5 separate regions of the Homo sapiens genome follow, and regions 2, 3, 4 and 5 are each linked to region 1. Evidence: promoter capture Hi-C in human tissues and cell types (Jung and others, 2019). All regions are on one chromosome and are shown on one strand. The core of a region is centred on a gene start or on the middle of the fragment in contact, and the rest is flanking DNA. Distances in the headings are between cores, read along the strand shown.

Region 1 (2,894 bases), core at 132-2,631:
AAACTCCTGGCACGCCTCAAGCTCCTATCCTCCTGGGGAAAACATACTAAGCAGGATAATGTATAAATAAAGGAGAGAATTTCAGGTAAAGATATAATGAAGCAGGGAAAGGGACAGTGACAAGAGTGCTATTTTTGAAAGGTCAGGAAGCTTTTTAGGGAAAAGTGTCATCTGATCAGGGACCTGGAGTGGGGAAGGGAGCTACACAGAGCTCTTAGGGGAGGGCAGCACAGGAGGTCAGCGAGAGGCAGGCCCTGGGTGGTAGTAGGAATTTCTTATGTTTCTGAAAAGGCAAAGAACATCTTAAAGAAAGCGCTCACAACGTTTGGGATGTTACGGATCTGTGTTGTTGTTTTCATGTTTATAGACTCAGTGCTGTAAATGTATCTCTGTTGCTTACATATTTTAGAATGAATTTCATTTAGGAGTCTAAGTCTACTACGAAGGCACTGCCTTATCTAAATGTCTCTAAACATACCTCCTGCCTATCACAAAGACATAGAATCTCACTCACAAGAGTCAAAGTTGTTCATTCCACCAGGAGAGATAAGGCTGGACCAAAAGCACCCCTGGGTTTAAGTCCACACTCCCCACCACCCCGGCCCCCACCCCCAAGCAGTGACAGACTGTCTTGAACTTCTCGCTGCAAGGGTCATAAAAGGGACAGAGAACAGAGCGACAGAAGATGTCTTCTGCATTCTCAACTTTTAGCCCCAGTTGTTAGAGAACTGGTATCTCCCCTACACGTCTGGCTCTGGTGGAGAAAGAATGACAGCCCCTACTTACAACGAGGAGACTGTGGCTCAGAGAAGTTAGGGGGCTGCCCAGGATCCTGGAGAAAGCCAGCTTTGACTCATAACCCTCGCGCCATTACCTGACTCCCATTAGTGGAGTCAGGAACTCCATGTTCCACTTCAGGAAATGAGCTTGTTGATTTTTCATTTACACAAAAATGAAAAATAAATACCAGATGTTTGAAAACATGTTGCAACACGTCCTGCTGGAACTTAAAAGTGCATTCTGACCAAAAAAATTAAATTAGAAAATCCACATAGCAAAAAAAAAAATGTTTTGGATGAAAATATACTTTATCTTTCTCTCACACATACTCTCTCTCTCTCTCGCACACATACCCACACACACACACACACACACACACGCGCGCGCGAAAACAATATCTCATTTCTTCTTCAGGGAGCAGCTGTGAAGGAAATCGGGGGAGGAGGATGGACACAACATCCCATCTTTGTGTTTCGATACAGACTAAGCTTTTAGGCCAACCCTCCTGACTGGATGGGGGCGGCGGGCGTGGCATGCATGAAAAGTAAACATCAGAGACCTGAAGAAGCTTATAAAATAGCTTGGGAGAGGCCAGTCACCAAGACAGGCATCTCAAATCGGCTGATTCTGCATCTGGAAACTGCCTTCATCTTGAAAGAAAAGGTATGTACTGTAGTTTTAAGCTTTTCATTTATGATAATAATGTCTAAAATAGAAACAGTCTAGACTCTCCATTGCCCCATTTCAGCTACATATAACTACCACTGATTGAGAGCTTGTGCCGGTAGCTTTAGACTTGTTCTCATTTTTCCTCAAACAAATGTACAAGGTAGGTATCATCAGAGCCATTTTTCCAGTGATAAAGCTGAGGTTCAGATACACTAGCAACATGCCTAAGATAAAACCAAACCCAGTGTGAACTCATCCCAGCGTCTTTTGCTTACCCCTCCAAACTGGACAACGAGGTGTTTCCATGCACAAACACCGTCCTAGGTGAATTCTCAGCAAGCTGTCCAACGGTGCATCGCAGTAAAATAATCTGGAAACTGGAATTAATGGTGTGACTAGAAAATGCATTTGACAATATGGCATAAAATATTGTGTTTGGGAGATACGTGTCTTGTTATATTTAATGGCTAAATGAGTCTTTGAGACCTAATGACTTATTGGAACCTATTTTATTTTATGAGGTGAAATTTCAAAATCTAGTCCTTCACGTTCTGCAGATCTTTGAGGTCAGGGGCTGTGTCCCCAGGCACTAAGAGCGCGGGCTTGTGGGAGACCTAGGCTTACATTCTAGCCTGTCCCCAGGCCTAGGCTTACACTGTGGCTTCGTAGTTTACCAGGAAGTAACCCGGGCAAATTCACCTCGTTGGTATGAAGAGAGTGTCAGCAGAGGTCGCCTCCAGAGGAGGTGCTGTGGAGACTGAGCGCATAGCACCCTTAAAATCCTGGGACCAGGGCTTCTCCACGGGTAAGCTTAATGCAAGTGGAGCAGTGATTTCCAGCTAGTGCCAGGCCCAAGGTGGATGCACTGTCACCTTAGTTGGATTGCTTTTTAATTACCTCATATTCTGTTAAAAATCATATTTCTTTTTTTTTTTTTTTGAGACGGAGTCTCACTCTGTCACCCAGGCTGGAGTGCAGTGGCGCGATCTCGGCTCACTACAGCCTCCGCCTCCCAGGTTCAAGCCATTCTTGTGCCTCAGCCTCCCAAGTAGCTGGGATTACAGGACTGCACCACCATGCCCAGCTAATTTTTGTATTTTTTGTTTGTTTGTTTTTGTTTTGTTTTTTTGAGATGGAGTTTTTGCTCTGTTGCCCAAGCTAGAGTGCAATGGTGTGATCTTGGCTTACTGCAACCTCTGCCTCCCATGTTCAAGCAATTATCCTGCATCAGCCTCCCGAGTAGCTGTGATTACAGGTACTTGCCACCACACCTGGCTAATTTTTTGTATTTTTAGTAGAGACGGGGTTTCGCCATGTTGGCCAGGCTGGTCTCAAACTCCTAACCTCAAGTGATCTGCCCACCTCGGCCTCCCAAAGTGTTGGGATTACAGGCATTAGCCATCATGCCCGGCCAAAAATAATATTTAAATTATACTTATTTTGTA
Region 2 (2,894 bases), core at 128-2,627, 470 kb after region 1:
CGTGCTCGGTTTGCCAGGCAGGGTTTATCAACCAGGGATCGCGTAGGAAGCAGAAACCACTCCAGGTGGTGTAAGCAGAAGGAGTTTCTTGTTGGAATTAGGTGCTTACAACATTGTTGGAGGGGCTCAAGGGGCAGGTTTCCGGCTGGGCCTTTTGAAGGACTCCTGGCTAGTTCAGAAGCAGCTGTTGCCAGCCCACAGCCATTCCTGGACTCTCTAGGAGGCTGAAGGATGAACAGTCTAAGTTGAGGTCTGAGGATTATGGAGTTTGGACAGAAATCACCACCACTGCCCTGCTTTTCTGGTACTCAGGAAGCGGCAGCACGACCTGGGTTCAAGGTGACTGGGACCGTCTAACCAGCAGTGACAGCCAGAAGCCACATTCTCACCGGGCACGTCTCATGTGAGCACACTAGTTCCCGAGTCGCAGCACCTGATTCACGTCCCGAGCTCTCGCCGTTTGGGCATCTGGGAAGCTTAGTTTCCCTCGTTCCAACCTCTCAATAGGAGGAGGATCAACGGGAGGTTTGGGAGGAGCCAACTGTGCAACCTCAGCTAGGTACGATTTTGACGAGTGGAACGGGTGGGGCCTGCGGCATTCACACTCCCAAGCTCAGCCTCCACCCAGGAGTGACTGCGCCCAGGCCGACCCCGGTGTCTTCCCACACTTGGCGTTAGCACCTTCTGCAGGTGGCAGCCTCCTTGCACCGGCAGGGAGACCACTGAGCGGCTTCACTCCTCCCTGGTTTTCTAAGCCTGTAAGACTGCTACCTTCCTGCGTGCTCCAAAAGCGATTGCTTTTTCACTTAGTTTCGTCTGATTGACGAAAGCTTGTCACAAGCTTGACAGAGGTTCAGGGAATGTGGGCAAAGCCGCGCTGCCTTCTACATCAAGTGCTGTTCATTTGGGTCATTAGGATTTCATGTCTGGTCCTGGTCTTCGTAATTAAACGTGTAAAGAGATGTCCTCCCAGCACTGTCATGAGCAGGAACTTTTTAGTAGAAATGTACTTGTTGATGACATGGTTGTATAATGTGATTGTGGGTGTAGGGGGACAGATGTGTTTCAAGTGCTAGAGAAATGACAATGATTTGGGTCTCATGGGACCCAGGCACAGGACCGTACACAGAGCAGGTGCTCAAAATGGCTTATTTAGTACATGGAGTGAAATGAAAAGAAGCTCAACGCAGGTGGAAGGTGATGCTCCGTGTCTCCCGGCTCTCCAGGCAGTAGTCATTCCTTGGCCCCTCAGATCCTCCATTTTGGGTGCAATGGTGTGGCTGTACTTTGTGGAGAAACAAATTTGGGCAGCTGAGTTCAGGGCTTCACGTGGAGGAGCGAGAAGGGGGCCACCCAATGCAGCTTTCCCTGGAAGCGTGTGGACTGGGGCACAGTTGTTGCAGGATGATTGGCTGCCACCATAAGTGGGCAAAATCATGGGCAGATCATCCTGCTTCCTTAATTGAATCTTGGAATGCATTCAGAATCTTCAACCCAGGGGTCTGGCACTCAAGGCGTTTGTGACCTGGCACTGACTCAGTACGCTCTAGCCAAATTGGGCACTCATGGCTCCCAGATGCTGTGCCAAGCTTTCACCTGCTTATCTTTGCTTGCACTGTTCCTGCCACCTGGAGGGACTTCTCTTCACCCATCTCTACCTTGAGAAATCCTCTCTGTCATTCATGGCCAACTCAGACACCCCTTCTTCATAGCATTCTTTGCCCGCCGGCCTCAGGAGCACCCTCTGGCACTATCAGAATGCCCAGGGCTCCTTTCCACCCTTTTCTCCTGGCCACAACCCTTTCTCCTGGCCACACCCCTTTCCGCCTCTTTGCCTGGTCCTGTGGGTGCTGTGCAGGCTCCCTCAGCCAAGCTCGGCATTCCCAGGCCTGGCTCCGAGTAGGTGTTTGTGGAATGAATGGCTAAAAAGTAAAGCAAAAAGCTCATGAAACAGAGGGGAAATCCAAAACTGATTAAAGAGAAAAAGGATTCTAACAAAAAAGACCGTGAGTGCTGGGTTCACACTGCCTGGGTTCAGGTCCTGGCTCCACTATTTAATAGCCCTGTGACCTTGGACAAACCAGTAAACCGCTTTGTGCCTCAGTTTCCCCCTATGTTAAGGATAAGCGTACTACCTAATCAGGGATGTTCTGAGAATTAAGATTCTTGAAAACATGTCAGCTTCTTGGAACGGTGCCTGCCTCGTAGTAAGTGTTAATATACGTTAGTGCACCACTCCCCTCCCAAGCTTTCCCAACTCCCTGGCTTGTCGAAGATAGTGTCAGAAACTGGCGTTTTTCCGAGCTCCCGCCAGATGTTCACCTCCGTTTCCATCCTGCAGTTGCGGCGAAATCAGTGGGAGATGTTTTCCTGAGGCGGCTCCATCCTTACTGTGGAAGGGAGAAAAGACGGGAAGGTCCACGGACCAAGGAGTGGCTCTTGCCAGGCTCTGTGCGAGGGCTCCTCATATGAAATGCTGTTTAATCTTCACACAGCCTCTGGGTATGGATTAATGTTCCTATCTGGGAGGAAGCTGAAGCTCAAAGAAGAGCAACAGCTTGCCTGGGATGGCACGGCGAGTGAGGGGCATGGCTGCAGTTGAAACCCAGATTGGATTTTGAAACCCATGTTCTCTTGACTGCTTCATCCAGCTGTTCCCACCACCTGGGGCTGGAGGCTGGGGGCTGCGTGTATGTGCGCACATGTGTGCATGCATGTGTGTGCATGCGTGTGGGTGTGTGTGCGTGTGTGCGCTGCTTCAGCTGTTCCCACCACCTGGGGCTGGGAGCTGCGTGTGTGCATGGGTGTGTGTGTGTGCATGCGCGCACTGCTTCAGCTGTTCCTACCACCCGGGGCTGGGAGCTGCGTGTGTGCATACGTGTGTGTGTGCACTG
Region 3 (2,894 bases), core at 233-2,732, 300 kb after region 1:
CTCTGCTTATCACTGTACATTTTTCTATCAAATGCTTTGGTTGCTTGTTTTATTGAGATCCTTTTTTGGTTTTCTTAGCAATAGAATGAAAACCTCAGAACTCTGGGTAAATTAAATGCAGGTATTTTTAATCTTTTGATAATGAAGAGCTCTTATCCTTTAAAAGATTCAGATGTAATCTTTGGCAATCACTGATTTATTTCTAGGAAACCCCACTTGTGAACTTTCTATCTGTACAACCCTAGGGACCTGGGACTCCCTGTTTCTTGCGTGGGGTGATTGAGAGCACACGTTTTCTTCAAAAGAAGGTGTGTCTCTCTTTGGCAGTCCCAGTAGCCCTTAGGAGACATGGGTGGGTGAGGGAAACAGCACACTCTTCTCTCAGTTGTTGGAAACCGGTTTGGTGGTTCCCACAGTCTCTGGCTCTGTGACTCTTCTTGATCGTTGGCAGGCTCTCAGCCAGTTGAGAATCATCACTGCTTTAGGGACCCGCTACTGGTTATGTGAGTATGTAGCAAGCACAAGTTGGGAATCGCTGATCTAAGTAATTATGAAAGTAAGCTGTTACCCACCCAGAAGGGGTAAGGTCGTGCATAGGATGACCTGGGGTGGGTCTCATGTGCTGCCGTCCCTGTGAGGTGAGGGGAGTACATTTCAAGAGCAAAATTAGCAAACTCTTGAATCATCATAACTGCTGTTGTGGTAGATATTCTGAATACCAAAAATTAAAAGTGAATTTAAACTGTCAGTGGAAACACAGCAGTCTGCATTTTAAAAACTTAGAGCTGTCCAGGCACATAGAAAAGTTAACTGTCTGAGGGGAAATAGAATGTGGTTAAGTTTAAAGAATATGCTTAGTATTATAAATGTTGAGTGATGAGTTGTTTACCATTTATAATAAACTGTTAAATGTATTTCTGGGAACATTCCATGGCAGCATATTCTGGGTTGTTGTTTATGTGTTCCAATGTAGACAAATTATATTTGCCTTGGGAAAAATTCTAAGTAATCAAAATTATATTTAAATATTAAAAAATCACATTGAAGTTCAATTTGTGTTAGCTGTATTAAATATCTTGGTCACTATTGTTCTTGTAACATTTGCTTTTGACAACACATTTTGAGATCTAAGAAAGGTAGTACATTAACAGTGCATTAATTAATGTTTTGTTAGAAACTAAATGTTAACAAAAAGTTTTGTGTGTATGTGAAGGTGGCAACTTCCTTTTGTATTATATTAACACTTTTTAAATGTATTCAGTCAGTGAAACCAATGATTATTATAGCACCAACACTTTCATTCAAGGAAGCATTTGAGTCTTATAATTTGTTTTGCATGGTACAATGGTTCTACTAAAATATACTTGTGTAATAGGTACTAGATGATTTAAAAACAAAACCGGAGAAACCATTTAAAAAGTTCCATAGCTTGTTATACAAAATATGCATTGCTAATAGTAGAAGCCATATATTGCCATTGTACTGTTGTAATACTTAACAGTGCTCATCTGGTGCTACCTGTAGACTATTTGGTATTAACGTCTGCTAGACCCTTCTTCCTATTTCTTCTTGAATGTATAATGTGTGCCTTTTAAGTTACTTCTAGTGTTGAATGGTAAAATCTTTGTGGTATTTTTGTATTATACTCTGCACTTTACACTTTCTTGGAAAGGAAAATTCCAGACTATCCAGTTTAAATAGTCTTTTAAAAATATTTATAATGTTTACAATAAATATTTTACATATTTTAATTCAACATCTGCAAATTAGAAAAAATATTTTATATGGTTTGTTGCTATTTAATGTTGCTCTATTTATTTTCTATCTTTTAGAATGGTTAAAATGAGAATAGCAATGTTTGTCTTTTGATGTGGAAGTGAACTTTTACAAAACCATGGGTATAATTGGATTGTCTTACCAGCTGTTCCAACGTATCAACCTTTTATTTTAGTCATGTCAATATGAGTTAGATGTTACTCTCAGCCACCTGTTAATAATCTCTTCTTACTGTTTTTTTCTTTTTAAAGTAGACTGATGAGGTTTAATTGATTGATTCAGGTCGGGAATAAATTTCCAGGGCTAAATGAAAACTATATAGAGATGTTAATAGTTGCTTTTTACCTAGACTAAATACAAAAAGTGACTAGAAAGTATTAGATTTTTTTTCCTTTTTTTTCTTTTTTTGAGGCGGAGTCTCGCTCTGTTGCCCAGGCTGGAGTGCAGTGGCGCGATCTTGGCTCACTGCAAGCTCTGCCTCCCGGGTTCACACCATTCTCATGCCTTGGCCTCCCGAGTAGCTGGGACTACAGGCGCCCACCACCACGCCCGGCTAATTTTTTGTATTTTTAATAGAGACGGGGTTTCACCGTGTTAGCCAGGATGGTCTCCATCTCCTGACCTCGTGATCCGCCCGTCTCGGCCTCTCAAAGTGCTGGGATTAGAGGCGTGAGCCACCCGGCCGGGCCAAAAGTATTAACATTTTTTTAATTCAAAATCTTGGCTTATGCTGTTAGACCTTTTTACTAGATCTTTACTCCTATCCTCAACTTTTTTCTAATTCTCTAGCTTTTGGTATGACATCTCTTGCTTCAAAAATCTCACTTTTTAAAAACTGACAAAACTTACTGCACTATTAACAACATCTGTAGCAATGAGTGTGTTATAAGGTGGATGCAAGGTATCTTATAGGAGATAATTTTAAAATGTTACAATAATAATCAAAAACAGTATTTTATGGTTGAAATCTTGAGAACAGAATTATGCCAAGCATTTGTATAAGGCTAATGTTTAGCAGGAAGCATTCATGATCAACGATTTATCTTGAAAATAAGATTCCTTCGTCTGAGGGATTGATCTGTATGTGTGTGTATATTTAGTTTCTCATGACAAGAAAA
Region 4 (2,894 bases), core at 145-2,644, 280 kb after region 1:
GGAGCTAAGCACTGGGTATCTTAGCATATTGTATGTATATGTTCATTTAATCCTCTGGCTTCCACCTTTCAGGTGAAGTCGATTCAGAGACTCTGTTTTAATCCTCCAGAGAATAACTTCCAGTCATTGTGTTTGTGTAGAGAGCAGTCATCCCCTAGTGGCATGGAGATGGGGGGCAGCGACAGTAGGATTGAACTGTCCTGCTTAAACAATCATTCCTCCTATTAATACTTTCGTGAATTGGTGTCATATTCAGTGCTGTGTTCCTTGAAGTGGCTGACCCAAGTTTTGCTGTGTTTGTGTACTTAGTTCTCTAATTTGGTGCAAAAACATTAGCATATAGAGAAAACTTGGGAATGAACCAACATGATTTCTGTAATATAATATTGATATTCTTTCCTTACATAATTGCTAATTCCCATTATCGAACATATTCTGGTAAAACAAATATTTCTTTCTTAAAATTTCGGAATAATCCTAAACTTACAGGGAAGTTTTTTTTTTTTTTTTTTTTTTTTTTTTTTTTGAGATGGAGTCTCACTCCATTGCCCAGGCTGGTGTGCAGGGGCACGGTCTCAGCTCACTGCAACTTCCACCTCCCAGGTTCAAGCGATTCTGCTGCCTCAGCCTCCCTAGTAGCTAGGATTACAGGCATGTACCACCATGCCCGGCTAATTTTTTTTTGTATTTTTAGTAGAGACAGGGTTTCACCATATTGGCCAGGCTGCTCTCGAACTCCTGACCTTGTGATCCACTCACCTCGGCTTCCCAAAGTGCTGAGATTACAGGCATGAGCTACTTTGCCTGACCTGAAATGTTTTTAAACCAGAAGACTTTTTATAGACCATATCTGTCATTGTTTAGGATCTAAGTACCACATCTTTGTATTCGGTCATTATGGCCATGTAGCAGGATGGCGGGGAGACAGAGTCTTGCCCTGTTTCCCAGGCTGGAATGCAGTGGTGTGATCATAGTTCACTGCAGCCTTGACCTCCTGGGCTCAAGCAGTCCTCCTACCTCAGTCTCCTGAGTAGCTGGGACCACAGGTGCTTACCACCATGTCTAGCTTATTTGTTTGTATGTATGTATGTATTTATGTACATATGATGGAGTCTCACTCTGTCACCCAGGCTGGAGTACGGTGTCATGATCTTGGCTCACTGCAACCTCTGCCTCCTGGGTTTAAGTGATTCTCATGCCTCAGCCTTCTGAGTAGCTGGGACCACAGGTGTGCACCACCATGCCTAGCTAATTTGTATGTATGTATGTATTTATGTACATATGATGGAGTCTCACTCTGTCACCCAGGCTGGAGTGCGGTGGCATGATCTTGGCTTACTACAATAGCCCCCTCCCGGGTTTAAGCAATTCTCATGCCTCAGCCTTCTGAGTAGCTGGGACCACAGGTGTGCATCACCATGCCTAGCTAATTTGTATGTTTGTATGTATGTATGTATTTACGCTCATATGACGGAGTCTCACTCTGTCACCCAGGTTGGAGTCTCACTCTTGTCAACATGATCTTGGCTCACTGCAACCTCCGTTTCCTGGGTTTAAGCTATTCTCATGTCTCAGCCTCCTGAGTAGCTGGGATCACAGGTGTGCGCCACCACGCCCAGCTAATTTTTTTGTATTTTTAGTAGAGACAGGGTTTCACTGTGTTGGCCAGGCTGGTCTTGAACTCCTGGCCTAAAGTGATCCACCCGCCTCAGCCTCCCAAAGTGTTGGGATTACAGACATGAGCCATTGTGCCCAGACATATTCTTTTTTAGAGACAGGCTCTTGCTCTGTTGCCCAGGCTGATCTTGAACACCTGGACCCAAGTGGTCCTCCCGCTTCAGCTTCCTAAAGTGCTGGGATTACAGGGGTGACACCGCTCTCGGCCAAAAAATTAACTTTTTGTTAATCAGCCATCTTTTGCTTTTCTTCTCTTTTACCTAATATCCCTTGAAGTTTTAAACATTGTATGTTCTATATTTGATTCACTCTGTAGTTATAATTTTGTAGTTGATCTCTTCTTTACTATTTATATAAGCTCATACCTTTCCTAGTTACTCACTGCAGTAATTAACTTGCCTTATCCCTGAGAGGTCTGAAAAAAAAAACAATGACTAGCTTAAAGTTTATTGAACGCCTTGGAAAAGTGTGGTATAAAACAATAATATTTATTTCATTCTTGAGTTTGAATAATCCCTTACCTATTTCCTCTGTCTCCACCCTGCATGTTAGACTAGTGTTCCCTTTCTGTCTTCATCTTTTGTACATATGTTCATTGTGTCATTTATTATATATAATTTTAAATGTTTACACGTTTCTCCCCACTGGAATAAAAGCTCACTGATGGAAGAACCTACATCTTTTTATCCTTGAATTTCTAGCTAGACTATTGCCTTGCTTATGCCTGTAACAGGCCTTTAATTTATTGATTGGAAGCTTTAGTTTGGAGCATGTAGTGTGCAACAAAGTATTTCAATCTTTTTTTTTTTTAAAAACAAGTAATTCTTAATTCTTTTAGAAGCTGGATAAGAAATCATCTCCATCCACAGGAAGCCTAGATTCTGGAAATGAGTCCAAAGAGAAATTATTGAAAGGAGAAAGTGCGCTTCAGCGGGTCCAGTGTATCCCTGGCAATGCCAGCTGTTGTGACTGTGGCCTGGCAGATCCACGGTGGGCCAGCATCAACCTGGGCATCACCTTGTGTATCGAGTGCTCCGGAATTCACCGGTGGGTAGGCCTGCCCAGGATGAGAATTTCTTCTTTTGGATAAACACAGATAGAAATGGTTGTTTCACTTGTTAGTTGCCCTTTTCCACTTCCCTAATTTAATCACCAGTTTGTATCTTTGTACCTTTTAAGAAGTAGTTAAAATCCTGGTTTGTAAAAGCTGTTGAGGA
Region 5 (2,894 bases), core at 142-2,641, 260 kb before region 1:
CAATTTTTGTCCTAGTTACATTTGCCAAAGCAAAACAAAATAACAAAGCATAACTCTTCTCCACTGTTCACAGCTTCCATAATCGATCTGCACGGCCAGACCTCCTGGGTCCCCTACCCTGGGCCCTGCTCCCTCACAGGCCAGGGTGTCTGTAGGAGGGCCTCCATTCTAGGTTGAGATCCAGTGCTCTCCTCTGGTCCAGGATTACTGCTATTTCCATTTATTTTTTTTTTTTAGGTAAAAAATTGTTATTCTTATTTAACCATGCTGCATATATACAACAATATCAATATATACAACTTGAACAGATACAATTTATACATAAAGTACAATGAAAGCATGCCTTTTGAAATTGATGCAGCTGACTTACTCTTCACTTTGTAATTTTGGCCAGTATACAGTATTGCAGTAATACTGCTGAAGTTATTAATTATTTAAATGAGTTAGATTACATCATAAGTTTAAGGGCACTAGAAAATCTATGTTTTCCCAGCCTGGGCAACATGGTAAAAATGCATCTCTACAAAAAATACAAAAATTGGCCTGAAGAGGTGGTGCATGCCTGTAGTCTCAGACTTGGGGGACTGAGGCAGGGGGATCGCTTGAACCTCAGGAGGTTGAAGCTGCAGTGAGTGGGGATTGCACCACTGCACTCTAGCCTGGGTGACAAAGTGAGAACAAGAAAGAAAGAAAGAGATAAAGAGAGAAAGAGAGAGAGCAAGCGAGAAAGAGGGAGGAAGGGAGGAAGGATGGAGAAAGAAAGGAAAGAAAGAAAGAAAGAGAAAGAAAGAAAGAAAAAGAGTGAGGGAGGGAGGAAGGAGAGAGAAGAAAGAAAGAACGAAAGAATGAGAAAGAAAGAAAAAGATCTATGTTTTCTTCTATTCTTCTAGGATTTTTGTTTTTGTTTTTGTTGAGACGGAGTTTCACTCTTGTTGCCCAGGCTGGAGTGTAATGGCACGATCTCGGCTCACCACAACCTCTGCCTTCCGGGTTCAAGCAATTCTCCTGCCTCAGCCTCCCAAGTAGCTGGGATTACAGGCATGCACCACCACGCCCGGCTAATTTCGTAATTGTAGTAGAGACGGGGTTTCACCATGTTGTTCAGGCTGGTCTTGAACTCCTGACCTCAGGTGATCCACCTACCTCGGCCCCCCAAAGTGCTGGGATTACAGGCATGAGCCACTGTGCCCGGCCTCTCCTAGTATTTTTAAGAACAAGGAATAATTAAAAAGAAAACAAATGTGTACATTAGGAAATTGAGCAGACACTGGCTTACTTAAACGTAAACTCTGCCCATTCTTTAATTCACAGCCCTGCAGGAAAGAGGACTTTCCTTGAGATTAAAGTGAAGGGGAAGGATATTAAAAACAGACTAAAAAGAAACAGAAGCAAAGCAAAAAGAAAAAAAAAACAAAAAACCCAAAGCATAATCATGGTTTTAAAAATATGTTACAGATGAAGTAGCACCGCCCCCTACCACAAAGTCACCTGAAATTTTTGCTGCAAAAAAATTCCCCTTTCTCCAGAAAGTGAATGAAATAGCATATGGAATGGATTCCATTCATGGGGCAAGTGTGTGATGCAACCTCCTCGCCTTATTACATTTCTACTTTATAATAATCTAAACACAAACAGAGAATACGATTACATTTTAACACCCTAACTATTGGTATAGGCAACATAAGGATTCTTAAAGAACACACTATAAACCAGTAACTCTACCAAGCCTCCTTTTTTAGTAGAGACGGGGTTTCACGATGTTGGCCAGGCTGGTCTCGAGCTCTTGACCTCGAGATCCTCCTACCTCGGCCTCCCACAGTGCTGGGATTACAGGTGTGAGCCGCTGCGCCCGGCCCAAACTTTCTTTAAGATCTCGGTCTTTCCCTGTGGTTCCTCTTGCAAACTGGTCTATTTTCCTTCAGTTTCCAAGCCTTCTTACCTTTTTCCCTCAAGTTCTCTGCAAAGTTGCTCTGCTCTTTTCCTCCTTTCTTCCAGCTCTGTATGAGATTCTTCAAGAAGTTTCTCTCGTTCCTCGGCTTTGGCCAACAAATCAACGCCACCAACAATTACCTTCTTCTCCAGGGCAGAGAACTTTTCTGGCAAAGACTGATGCTCTTGTTGGGTTTTAAGATCTTTTTTCCTGTTTCTCGAATTTAGCTGCAGCCTTGTTTCTTCTTCCACGTCAAGCTTTGTTTCAAGTGCCTTTCTCTCCGCATCCGCTGTCGCCGGCGTTTCAACCGTCCTCTCTGGGAAGACTTTATTTCCCCCTTTTTTCCTTTTCTCTTCATCTTCTCCAATCTTACCCTCTTCATTGTCATCTCCGTCCGACCCACTGACATCACAGCCTGATATTTCTTCCCCTTCTGTGAGCTTCTTTTTCAGGTCTTCTATTTCTTTCTGAAATTGATGAAGCAAAGCATCCTTCAGATCTTCATTAAATCTAGCTTTATTTTTAATACTTTTTTTTGGAGACAGTCTTGCTTGGTTGCCTAGGCTGGAGTGCAGTGGCGCGATATCAGCTCACTCCAACCTCCACCTCCTGGGTTCTAAGCCATCCACCTGCCTCAGCCTCCCGAGTAGCTGGGATGACAGGTGCCCACCACCACGCCTGGCTAATTTTGTATTTTTAGTAAAGACGGGGTTTCACCATGTTGGTCAGGCTGGTCTCCAGCTCCTGACCTTGTGATCCACCCCTCTCGGCCTTCCAGAGTGCTGGGATTACAGGCAAGAGCCACCACGCCCGGCCCCATGGAATGATTTTTAAACTACTGAACTATAAAATGATTTTTTATTTATTGATTGATTGGCATCGTGACCCCCTCCCGTGCTAGGCAGACCACCCTGCTCGGGTGCAGCCCGGTGACGCCGGGCACGTGGAAGAGCTTGCCAGGGAC

Evidence for each region. Contacts are between HindIII fragments. The study calls those that stand out against the background at their distance.
Region 2: a fragment that was not itself captured here is called in contact with the fragment with the promoter of APOD in region 1 in 2 of the 25 tissues and cell types used here (spleen and thymus).
Region 3: a fragment that was not itself captured here is called in contact with the fragment with the promoter of APOD in region 1 in 2 of the 25 tissues and cell types used here (lymphoblastoid cells and spleen).
Region 4: a fragment that was not itself captured here is called in contact with the fragment with the promoter of APOD in region 1 in 2 of the 25 tissues and cell types used here (dorsolateral prefrontal cortex and spleen).
Region 5: a fragment that was not itself captured here is called in contact with the fragment with the promoter of APOD in region 1 in 2 of the 25 tissues and cell types used here (H1 embryonic stem cells and lymphoblastoid cells).

The regions. Positions count from the first base shown.
Region 1 is chr3:195,582,427-195,585,320 of GRCh38, reverse strand. APOD (apolipoprotein D) reads left to right here and starts at 1,381. Exons shown (of 5, transcript NM_001647.4): 1 at 1,381-1,443. RefSeq lists an enhancer at 1,761-1,930. The HindIII fragment of the contact is 4,834 bases long and covers 1-1,861 here.
Region 2 is chr3:195,112,687-195,115,580 of GRCh38, reverse strand. All of the region lies in intron 3 of XXYLT1 (xyloside xylosyltransferase 1), which reads left to right. Among named protein-coding and RNA genes, the nearest start is that of XXYLT1-AS1, 20 kb to the right of the region's middle. The HindIII fragment of the contact is 3,156 bases long and covers 1-2,894 here.
Region 3 is chr3:195,280,695-195,283,588 of GRCh38, reverse strand. The region is part of intron 22 of ACAP2 (ArfGAP with coiled-coil, ankyrin repeat and PH domains 2); the gene reads left to right. Among named protein-coding and RNA genes, the nearest start is that of XXYLT1, 11 kb to the right of the region's middle. The HindIII fragment of the contact is 4,996 bases long and covers 1-2,894 here.
Region 4 is chr3:195,301,796-195,304,689 of GRCh38, reverse strand. ACAP2 (ArfGAP with coiled-coil, ankyrin repeat and PH domains 2) reads left to right here. Exons shown (of 23, transcript NM_012287.6): 14 at 2,516-2,724. Among named protein-coding and RNA genes, the nearest start is that of XXYLT1, 32 kb to the right of the region's middle. The HindIII fragment of the contact is 3,704 bases long and covers 1-2,894 here.
Region 5 is chr3:195,843,557-195,846,450 of GRCh38, reverse strand. All of the region lies in intron 1 of LINC01983 (long intergenic non-protein coding RNA 1983), which reads left to right. The region is part of intron 1 of LOC107984010 (a long non-coding RNA gene); the gene reads left to right. It also overlaps the pseudogene KIF3AP1. Among named protein-coding and RNA genes, the nearest start is that of LINC01983, 15 kb to the left of the region's middle. The HindIII fragment of the contact is 9,125 bases long and covers 1-2,894 here.